Regions from separate parts of the Homo sapiens genome. Here region 1 is linked to region 2. The links are contacts of gene promoters, found by promoter capture Hi-C in blood cells and fetal thymus (Javierre and others, 2016). All regions are on one chromosome and are shown on one strand. Each heading gives the region's core, a stretch centred on a gene start or on the middle of the fragment in contact. The rest is flanking DNA. Distances are from core to core; before and after follow the strand shown. Region 1 overlaps PRMT3 (protein arginine methyltransferase 3). Region 2 holds the start of RPL27A (ribosomal protein L27a).

Region 1 (6,738 bases), core at 2,819-5,318, about 12 Mb before region 2:
ATTATACTCAACCAAATCCAGGAAGAAAGAAAAAAGTAGAAAGAAAAAAACCTAATATTTATTGATCAGCAGGTATCTTTCCAGTACATCATTACATCTTGTTTTATTCTCAAAACACAGTTAAGATGTATTTATCCCTATTTTAGGCAAGGAAAAAATAAATTTCAGAGAAATTAAGTGACTATCCTAAAGTTATATATCTGTTTATGGAGGAACTAAGATTTAAACCCAAACCTGCCTTCCCAGCCCACGTTCTTCCCATTACACAAAGCCACCTCCTAGCCCATGTCCTTATTGTAGCAGGTATTAAATTCAGATATTGCTTAAGGGAAATCCTGCCATATATGAAAATATGAATGAACATGGAGGACATTATGTGAAGCAAAATAAGCCAGACACAAACAGACAAATACTGTGTGATCTCACTCTTGTGTGGAATTAAAAAAAAACTCACAGCAGCAGAGAGTGGAATGGTGGTGGAAATGAGGAGATGTTGGTCAAAGGGTACACACTTTCAGCTACAAGATGAGTAAGTTCTGGGCATCTGTCTATTGTAAAGTGACTATAGTTAAAAATGCTGCACTGTATACTTGAAATTTGCAGACAATAGATCTTAACTGTTCTCACCACAAAAATAAAAAAATGGAATGTGAGGTGATGATGTTAATCAGCTTGGTTATGGTAATCATTTCACAATGTATATGCATATCAAATCATCACATTGTATACCTGAAATGTACACAATTTTCACTTATCAATTATACCTGAATAAAACTGGAGGAAAAAAAAAACATTCCTAAGGACAGCGTGTAAAGAATTCTACACATTCAATAATTTTTCATCCTGGGCAAGGTGGAGTGAAATCTATACACTAAAGTCTTATTGCTGATATTATTAAATATCCTAATTCCTAGTATTTAATTTTAATTTCACTTCTCTACAAAGAGAAGTTAATATATGTAGTTAGTGAATTTCACAAAATCAGTGTCCATTTACTGATCTAACTTTCGGATCAACTTAAGGCAGTGAGCAGTGCAAATATTACATTTTCCCCTCAGGATAGCACTGGAAGAAATGTGACTTCGTAAAAATTCCTATTCATTTTTTAGTTGTGAAGACACGTCCTTGGAATTAGGACAAAATAGCTAAGCCAAACGAATGCATTATACTATAAGAGACTACAGCCTAAGTTGAATTCTTGTTATAAAAGCAGTGCAGGGTGTCACTAACTTCTCATCACTGTGGCAGAATATTGAGTCACTGAGGTTTAAAAACTGCATCATTCACTATCTAATTCACCAAAAATTAATCAGCACAACAAAATATTTCCAAACTATATAAGGCTGGTATACTGTATTTTCTACTTCCTACTACAAACCTCATTTTGTATTTTGATTTCAAAATTCTTCAAACTGTTTGGCCAGTTTCTGTTTTGCTTTCTGCTGCAATAAAAATTAGTCATAATAAAAACTTTTTAATGTTAAGAATATGCAGATAATTATATATTAAAGATTAAACTTAGAGATTTGAAAAAAAGAGGATTCAGTAAATATTAAGATTCCTAACTACAATTTGCTAGAACAGTCTAATTCAAAGGCCTAAACCATATTCAGAAAGATGAACATCTACATCTACCTTCTGTCTCAGGATGTTCAAATCACCTGGATACTTCTTTCGGGCAGAGAAGAATTACTGCAAAGGCTGACCAATTTTTCAGTAAAATATAACAATTATAAATGTGTATAAACCTCACATAAGAGCTCCAAAATACATGAAGCAATTAAAGGCAAAACCAGACAATCTTTTGATCACAGAGTTTTTAGTTTTTTTAGACAGAGTCTTGCTCTGTCACCTGTATACCAGGTTCAAGTGATTCTCCTGCCTCAACCTCCCGAGTAGATGGGACTACAGAAGCCCGCCACCATGCCCGGCTAATTTTTTGTATTTTTAGTAGAGATGGGGTTTCACTGTGTTAGCCATGATGGTCTGGATCTCCTGACCTCGTGATCTGCCCTTTTAGCCTCCCAAAGTGTTGGGATTACAGGCGTGAGCCGCCACACCTGGCCGACTATTAGTTTTTAAGCAACTTAACTTTTCTACTGAAACTAACTACCTGATGAAGCATTTAGATAATTTTAAAAAGCATGTCTTTTCCTAAAACACTCTACCTCCATTTTGCCGTTAACAAACGGCCTTATGTTAATTAAAGGAGATACACTTATGTTCATCTTACCAAATTGAAGTAAAAGGTCATCTTCTAATACTGGCTTCAAATACTCTTCTTTCTCCCAAGGCACTGGGTTGTATATGGAATTCATGTACTCAACTGTAGGATTCTGGATATAAAATTAATCTCATGTTTTTTTCATTACATATAATCACAAAATCCCCTTAGTAAAAACTACAGAAATTAAACAAAAAGGAAATCATGTTTGCATTACACAAAGTCAGTATGTCTCCAAAAAGTCTACGTGCCTGTCATTTCATTAACTTGCTGGACGACTGCTTAACCAGCAGTTTCAACGCAGAGTTTTTTTTACTGTTTGGATTTGGGGAAAGCGTTGTCATGTCATTAAACATTCATTTAAACAGGACAAAAAAAAAAAAAAACAAAGTATCTGAAAAAAAACAGAATAAAAAAGAGCAACCAAAATACTTAAAATCACATTAGAAATTATTTCTGATTTTACAGATCCTGTCCATCAGTATTTCCCTTTATTTGACACTGAATTACTTTTTCACATACACCGATTCATCTCTTAGATGCAGTGAAAACAATATTTGTTAGTTATGGTAGACATTTACATGGTGCTTTCTGCTGTGCTACCTCCTAATGTCCGTGATTCCCCCAATATGATGAGTACCAAATTTAATGCAGTTCCTCATATTCTTTTAAATAATCAGTACACTGACAGTCACTGTAGCATTTCTTTGATTTCTAAACGAAATTATAAATTAAGCTGTCAACTTACCTTAAGTCTAATAAAATTTATTAGCTTAATGTATCCATAAAATTCAAGTCCTAAAGGGGGAAAAAGATAATTCACCTATGTTAACATAATGAGTTTTGTTTAACTGACCTATTCTATAAAGCCTTCTCTGATTAAACAATAAAATAATTCTGACCTCTAAATTACTACTTATATTTTGAATTTTATTAAGAATTAGAAGTAGTAATACAATGATACTTCTGAATATCTTGAGAAGCAGCCATAAATGACAAATTAAAGCTTTTCTAGTATTTCTAAAAAGATGGAAAACTGATTTCTAAAATTCTACTCCTCCTTTGTCAGAACAATACAAATCTGGAAAATTAAGATCCACATTTTACCAAGTATTTGGCAACTGATATCAGAGCTGAAAGTATTAAATCCCTAATTTTTATGGTGTGTATCAAATTATAATTTTGCCAGGACATGGTGTATACTAGCTTTTACATGAAGTTAAATGATGCAAGCCCAATAAGGCTTGTTATCTGGTTCTCGTATCTTTCCAGAAATGAAGCAGCATTTAAAACAAAGGAAAGCAGTAATACATCCAACCAACCAATTATTTGTCATAAAACTCTTGTTATGAGAAAACTTTAATAGTATACAAACCCCCTATATCGGTAAGTAAAAAAAAAACAAAACAAAATTCTATCTTAAGTATGATTCTAATACTTTAGAAATGCAACATTAAAAACATTAAGGCTGGGCACAGTGGCTCATGCCTGTAACCCCAGCACTTTGGGAGGCCAAGGCAGGCGGATCACCTGAGGTCGGGAGTTCCAGACCAGCCTGACCAACATGGAGAAACCCTGTCTCTCCTAAAATACAAAATTAGCCAGTGTGGTGGCGCATGCCTATAATCCCAGCTACTTGGGAGGCTGAGGCAGGAGAATCACTTGAACCCGGGAGGCGGAGGTTGCAGTGAGCCGAGATCGTGCCATTGCACTCCAGCCTGGGCAACAAGAGCGAGACTCCGTCTCAAAAAAAAAACAAAAACAAAAAACATTAAAAAATGAGGCTGTCATTTATGCCTTACGAAAGTACTTGCAGTTGAATTTATGATTTATAAACATGTGATATCACGTATTTATCTGACACTGAAACACCTGTTAGTATTTGCTATTCTTCAGTAATGTCCCTTCTTAGTTGTCAACAAATATAGGGACCAAAAAACCTATTATTTTTTTTTTTTTGAGACGGCGTCTCAGTCTGTCACCCAGGCTGTAGTGCAGTGGCATGATCTTAGCTCACTGCAACCTCCGCCTCCCGGGTTCAAGTAATTCTCCTGCCTCAGCCTCCCAAGTAGCTGGGACTACAGGCACATGCCACCATGCCCGACTAATTTTTTGTATTTTTAGTAGAGTTGGGTTTTCACTGGGTTAGCCAGGATGGTCTCGATCTCCTGACCTTGTGATCCATCCGCCTTGGCCTCCCAAAGGTTTTCACTGGGTTAGCCAGGATGGTCTCAATCTCTTGACCTTGTGATCCACCTGCCTTGGCCTCCCAAAGTGTTGGAATCACAGGCGTGAGCCACAGCACCTGGCCTATTTAGTTAATTTTATTGTAGTATAGCTCTTCTACATCCATTTAAAGTGGAAGGCCTTAATTGTAAGGCAAGTGTGTTTAAATAAAAGTTTCAATAGAAACATCACCTGAGTATTTTGCATATTAATCTTAACTTCATCACTCTTTTTCCAGTCTCTACCGAACTTTGTATAAAACTCAGTCTCGTAGGCTGTGAAGTTCATGTCATGCTTTGAGCTGATTGTCTTTTTTCAAATGACCTGCGTCCTTTTTCAAGTCCTACATCTACACTTGCTCTCCCTAAATCTAATATGTAATCACATAAAATGTAAAAATGTAATCACATGCCAAGTCTGTTTTTGTTTTTAGTTGAAAAGCTAATATAAGCTTAAATACAGTGAATCTTGTCTAGAAGAGTGACTTATTCATCTTTTCTCAAGGACCGCTTGTCAAAAAAACTCCATTTCCACAAGATGTTGCTGTGTGATTCGCCATATTAAACTCGTACAGAAAAGGGTCTGAAAAACTATAAAATCTGAACTTATATTTCACAGATTTTTTTTTTTTTTGAGAAGAGTCTCACTCTGTTGCCCAGGCTGGAGTGCAGTGATACCATCTCAGCTCACTGCCACCTCTGCCTCCCAGGTTTAAGCAATTCACCTGCCTCAGTCTTCTGAGCAGCTGCTATTACAGGTGTGCGTCACCACACCCAGATAACTTTTGTATTTTAGTACAGGTGGGGTTTCAGCATGTTGGCCAGGCTGGTCTTGAACTCCCGACCTAAAGTGATCCACCCACCTCAGCCTCCCAAAGTGCTGGGATTACAGGTGTGAGCTGCCATGCCTGCCCAAATTTCACAAATTAAATTGCCTTTATTCTAAAAACTACTCACCATGTTTATGAACCATGCTGTCAATATTAAACTGATGCTCAGACTTACAGTGTGAAAATGTTTCTTCAGCAGATGTGAATAACCTGAAAAATCAAGCAATAGCTTCATGGAATAGTCCCCTAAGAAGTCTAAATACTGATTTCATGTTACATATACACTTTTTTTTTTTTTTTAACTCTGCTGGTTTCTAGTTTTACTTCCAATTAAGAAAAAACAAACACACTTGTATCTGAAAGGAAGGGAATCCAGCACTTTTAAAGGGAATTAGTACTTCTGAGTCCCATTTTATACCTAAAACCAATTATCCTTTAAATGTCAAAGTGAATTTATTTGTCAAATAATATCACTGATTTTATCAAAAGGCTTTTAAGAGAGTTCCCTTTGATAGAGTCTGTTTCTCTCAAGTCATACAATTTCTCTACTTGAGATTCTTTTCTCCTCTAAGTGTCAACTCTGCTTTCAGAGGCTTTGAACTGGCACAGCTCAAACTGCTTTTAGAAATAAAGCATAAAATGTAATTTTACAGCTGGCATACTCCCCAAGTGCCTTATTTCAAAAGTGATCTTGTAGTATTCCCAACGTACTTGCATCACAGACACTGTGAGGATCAATCCTCTTTATTATGTGACATGCAAATCTGAAGGCTACTTAAAGACAGGAATACACAGCAGAGAAGCTGTATACCTTATCTATATTCCTAACACATGTGGAGCATTAGTTTTCCACAAATGTTTACCGAGATAGGTTATGTCGACTATTTATGGAGGCTATCACAGCCACGGTACCACTGGTGCTCAATAAATATTTTATGACAACTAGAATATATACAGGCATTCTATCTACCCAATGGGGCTACAGATGAGAACACTAACGCACCACCACTCAGCACCATGCCCAGATACAGGGAACACTGGAAAATGTATTAAAGTAACACCGGCCAATGCCAACCGGGCCTCTTTCATGCCTACTTGCCTAGGACAGGAGCCAAAGCTTCCCAAGACTAACAGGCAGAATTTTAAGTGGCAAGAATGTGAGTTTGGAAATAAGCACACCACAGCTTTGTGACCTTGAGCAAATTATTGATACTACAGTCTTTTTCCTTAAGTGAAAAGTCCTACTTAAGTAAGGTGAACTTCCTTCTTAGACTATGGAAACCGCTCAAATAAAAAAGAAATGTTTCACCTGAGAAGCTCTGTACTGGTCAAAGAATTAGCATGGTAAAGCCGGAAGGCTCCGTAGGGATTATCTAGTTCAGGGTGGCTGCCAAATATGTTACTCGTTAGTAGTAACTCGTTAGTAACTTCACTGTTACTTCCGATCTTGTCCTCATAA
Region 2 (4,643 bases), core at 1-2,500:
CATTACCGCGGCCGCCGGGGTGCTTCCGGTGCTTGCCTGCAGGAATACAAAGCTACGTGGGGCCGGTGTGATGGCTCATGCCTGTAATCCCAGCATTTTAGGAGGACGAGGGGGGGTAGATCACCTGAGGTCAGGAGTTCGAGACCAGCCTGGCCAACACGGAGAAACCCCCGACTCTACTAAAAATAGAAAAAGAATTAGCCGGGCGTCGTGGCGCACACCTGTAATATCAGCTACTCGGGAGGCTGAGGCAGGAGAATCGCTTGAGCCCGGCAGGCAGGGGTTGCAGTGAGCCGAGATTTCGCCACTGCACTCCAGCCTGGGCGACAGTGATCAGTCTCACACACACACAAAAAAGCTACATGCACCACACAGCCTTCTCATGCATCTCAATACTTCCTCGCACAAAAGCAGAGTGTTTCCCAGACTTCTGTGTCCCGCTTACGCTGTTCCCACCCTACCGATGCCGGTTTTCAGCAATGCGATTACTTTAGGATTCCGGGTGAAACATCTTTTCAGGTTCCACATCACAGCATTCCCACAGTACTCCATGTCTTCAACTAACCCAATACCGTGCCTGCTCAATTCCTATTACCCCACTGATGTGAAATTCCTTAGAACTGGAATACTAGAGGATCGTCAGAAAAAAATCAACAGCTGTGCAACTTGACCACAAAAAGGTCTTATTCTAACCCACTTATAGGCTACCGATCTCCAGACTAGCTAAGCACCCGAAGAGAGCCCAAGGCCCACCCCGAGGGGAAGCCGGCACTTACCTATGCGGCCGTGGCCGTGGCTCACGTGGCCCCTAAGTTTCCGGGTCTTCCTCAGTCTGGATGGCTGTGTGGAAAAAGCTTGGTGGTAAGGCCTAAGGAATTAGGGGCAGGGGGCGATGCCCGCCAGCCGAGATGGTCCTGTAAGCCTGTGGGTCAAAGACCTAACTTCTGGAGCGTTTGGGAAAGCTGAGGGTACCGATCCGCTCAGGGCCGTGAGGTCTCACCACGGTAGCGCAGGGGCCCGCGTGTCCTAGAGATCCGAACCGCGGGCCTAACACACGGCTCCGGGAGCCCCGCCCCGGGCCCGCGCCGGCCACCCTGCCCCGCAGGCGGCCATGCGCAGCCTGGAAGCCCCGACCATGGTAGGGAGTGGATGACTAGGGGCAATGGGAATACAGCTTAGGGGTCTCCGCCGGCAAGGAAGAGGAGGCAAGAAACGAAACACCTACCATGTTGGCAGCCCAGACGAAAAAGGAAGGCCTTCGCCAAGTCTCGCGAGGTATCGGCCACGGGGGCGGGGCAAAACGCCTCACTTCCGGTCACAGAGGCCGGGCTTCGGGCGGGGCCTCCTGGTCTCGCGGGATTGCGCGCCTGCTAGTCGCTTCCTCTTTCTGAGGGTGGTGATCCCCCATCACGGAGTGTCCTGGTGGCGGTGTACGGTTTCGGTGAGGCTCGTTGTGCTAGGCTCGGAGGGCGAGAACTGTTGAAGAATCGGGGCTAGGTGTGCTGTACTGCACGCCGCCCGTGCTTGCTTGAGCCAGGCCCTTTTCTGGCGCCTTGGTCAGGGAACCGCCTAAGCCGACCCTAAGGGCCTCGTTGTCTGAGCTCCTCACCAAATGCGCCAGCCCTGAGCCGCCCCGCGCACCTCCACAGTTCTTAGTGGTCTGCCCGGGGCTGGTGATAGTGGCTACTGGTTTGTCTCCCGGCCGCAGTGCGGAACCGCGAGGCCCTCTTTAATCCTCAGTGTGCCCACCTGGTGTCTCGCTCGGTTTCCTGAAGCTCGGGCGGCTCCCGAAATGCCTTCTCCCGCTCTCACACTTCTGAGTGGGCACTGCAGCTTCCTTTCTCTTTTGCCCTTTTGCTATCATTTGGTTGTCCTCTCAAGTTTGAGCAACTTAAATTGCTTCAGGGACTTAGATGCCTGGTTGCTTTATGGTCCTTTTAATGCAGATGTTGTAAATACTTTTTCTAAATGCCACATTTAGGCCAGGCGCGGTGGCTCACACCTGTAGTCCCAACACTTTGGGAGGTCGAGGCGGGAGGATTTCTTGAGGCGAGTAGTTCAACACCAGCCTGGGCAACATAGTGAGACCCTCGTCTCCACATACAAAAGTAAATAAGTAAAAATAAATGCTATTTTTGAATTTTCTCCAGAATCTACATAACACGCCTGTGACCCTTTCCTGGACACAATGCAGACAGTTGCTCGCTTCCCCACCTGTACCACCACACAATCTAGTATAACCCTTATGTAATTTATTGACCTACGTTTGTCTTCCCTACTAGACCTAATTCCTTATGTGGTCAAGGACTGTTTTTTTTAATCCACACTCAACTAGTGATTGTTGAGTGAATAAATGAACTTACCCTCACCTCCCTGTCTTCGCTAATAGCAGCATGTCTTCGCTCTTAAGTCGGTTCCTTCAACCAGTGTTCAAGATCCCATCCCCTCGCTAGTCTATTAATAGATCCCATGGGAAAAATGAAATAAATTTTTAAAATCCCATCCCCTCAGTTATTCTCTGTGTGTATGTGTGAGCGTGTATTTATTTATTTTTCTTTGTCTTGCCCCCTTCAGCTAAAATATATTTTAGCTAAAATATCCAAAATTCTGGCCGGGCGTGGTGGCTTACTTCTGTAATCCCAGCACTTTGGAAGGCCGAGGCGGGCGGATCACGAGGTCAGGAGATCGAGACCATCCTGGCTAACACGGTGAAACCCCGTCTCTACTAAAAATACAAAAAATTAGATGGGCGTGGTGGTGGGCGCCTGTAGTCCCAGCTACTCGGGAGGCTGAGGCAGGAGAATGGCGTGAACCCGGGAGGCGGAGCTTGTAGTGAACCGAGATCGCGCCACTGCACTGCAGCCTGGGCGACAGAACGAGACTCCGTCTCAAAAAAAAAAAAAAAAATTCCAAAATTCTCCCATGTCCTTGCCCTTACAGCCAAGCTCCCCAAAAGAGTAGTCTACAAATCCTGCCCATTTGCACCTTCCCATCCATTGTTCACTGCGGTCTAGCTCACAGCCTGTGACTTCAGTGAAATTGCTCTTACTAATGTCATTAATGAACGAATTGCCAAATTGGACTCTTCCTATTCTTCATATCACTTGTTCTTTCTGTTGTACTTTAATCTGTTGGCGTCTTTTTCTAGAAAAAGTCTTGCCTTCCTCCTACTCTTTGGTCACTTTTCAGTCTTCTTTTCAGGTTCTTCCATCCAGCGTTGTCCACCATTTGAATGTTGATGTTCCTCAGCCTTCTGTCCTTGTCCTTATCTTTTCACAGTACATGGTCTTCTTGGGTGGCTTCAATTCACATCCTTATTGCTGAGCTCCACACCCATATGGTCACTTAATTACTGGTTAGTATTCCTTGGACATTCTACAGACAAAGTAAACATATCCAAAGAACTCAATCTGCACTGCTCACTGGTGCCTTCTCCTTTATTCTCTGTCTTGGTGAGTGGCACCATTGTCCACCTAGATAATGAAAATTGTCCCCAAGCCTTCTCTTCTTCTACTACACTGTCACCCTATCCTTTTGTTTCTGTATCTCCCCAATGTGCTTCCTCTGTTTAAGCCTTAGTGCCCTGCCTTCATTCAGGCCCCCATCATATCTCTTAACTGGAGTTTACAACACCTTCCTTTGTTCACTCTGCCTGCATTCTAACCCTCCTCCAATTTCTGTATCCTTCACACCTCCACCACGTTAGTATTCCGAAAACATGACTTTCATTCTTTTACTTGATCAAAAAGTTCGGTAGCTCCTTATGACCAACAGAATATAGCCCACTTGCCTTTCCAGCCTTACCCCAGCCTCTCCCTTACACAAGCTTTCTACTGCAGCCGTGCCTGGTATATCCCATTTGCATTTTTGCCTTTGCTCATGCTGTTTCCCATCCCGGAGTGCCCATCCTCTTCCTGACCACATGTCCTGAATCTTCCTCAACCTTTAAGGCCAACTTTATATTCTGCTTCTTCCCAGAACACTTCAGTCCACAAGGATAACAACCAACATTTTCAGAGCACTTGGCAATTTACAAAATACATCTGCCTGAAGGTACAGCACTACCAGCCTCATTTTACGTGTGTGAAAACTGAAGCACAGAAGAATTGGGTGACTTGTCAGACGCTGCATAGGTGGTCAGGTACAGAGCCTGGGCCTAGCCTTTAGTCTTCTCTCTCCAGATCCCCTGCTTTTACCTCAGTGACCAGTCCCTCTCTGACCTTACAGCATTATGGTCTTCATCCCTCCATCAACCTTAATCACATACTGCATGTGACCAGCAGGAAGAGGGGTCTTGAGAATAGGAGGGGAGATCAAAGAAGACATCGTCGTCTATTTGACATCAAAACTGGCCAGTAAGTGCACAAGAAATGAGCTGGGTTACCTGGAACCTAACCTTGGGAAGATGATCTGTCAATGGAGGTAAGCTGGGCAGGGCCTTGGGAATGAAAGGGAACCATCAGTGGTATTAGAGCTGGGGCCTACAATAAGGACCACCACTGCAAGGGGTTGAGGTAGGGTTCTGGGTGCTAAGACACTCCTCTTGGATAGTTTGCCAGGTTCCTTGGTTATAGAGGAGCTACGTTCTGTCCCTCAGGTCACGCGGCTGAACAGAAGGCCTCCCAGAGTGGACCCAGCACTAC

What was found. The method cuts DNA at HindIII sites, captures the fragments that hold promoters and counts their contacts. A CHiCAGO score of 5 or more calls a contact.
Region 1: a fragment that was not itself captured here is called in contact with the fragment with the promoter of RPL27A in region 2 in 1 of 17 cell types (neutrophils); the score reaches 6.8 in neutrophils.

The regions. Positions count from the first base shown.
Region 1 is chr11:20,388,495-20,395,232 of GRCh38, reverse strand. PRMT3 (protein arginine methyltransferase 3) reads right to left here. Exons shown (of 16, transcript NM_005788.4): 3 at 5,407-5,489; 4 at 2,973-3,022; 5 at 2,234-2,336. Among named protein-coding and RNA genes, the nearest start is that of PRMT3, 4.1 kb to the right of the region's middle. RefSeq lists enhancers at 6,647-6,696, 6,552-6,738. The HindIII fragment of the contact is 1,671 bases long and covers 3,233-4,903 here.
Region 2 is chr11:8,679,399-8,684,041 of GRCh38, reverse strand. RPL27A (ribosomal protein L27a) reads right to left here and starts at 1,250. Exons shown (of 5, transcript NM_000990.5): 1 at 1,226-1,250; 2 at 777-840; 3 at 1-36. The coding sequence starts at 1,228. It overlaps TRIM66 (tripartite motif containing 66), which reads left to right and starts at 1,377. Exons shown (of 25, transcript NM_001388022.1): 1 at 1,377-1,441; 2 at 3,979-4,141; 3 at 4,228-4,422. RefSeq lists enhancers at 329-971, 1,298-1,487, 1,688-1,757, 621-1,820 and a silencer at 978-1,177. The HindIII fragment of the contact is 2,972 bases long and covers 857-3,828 here.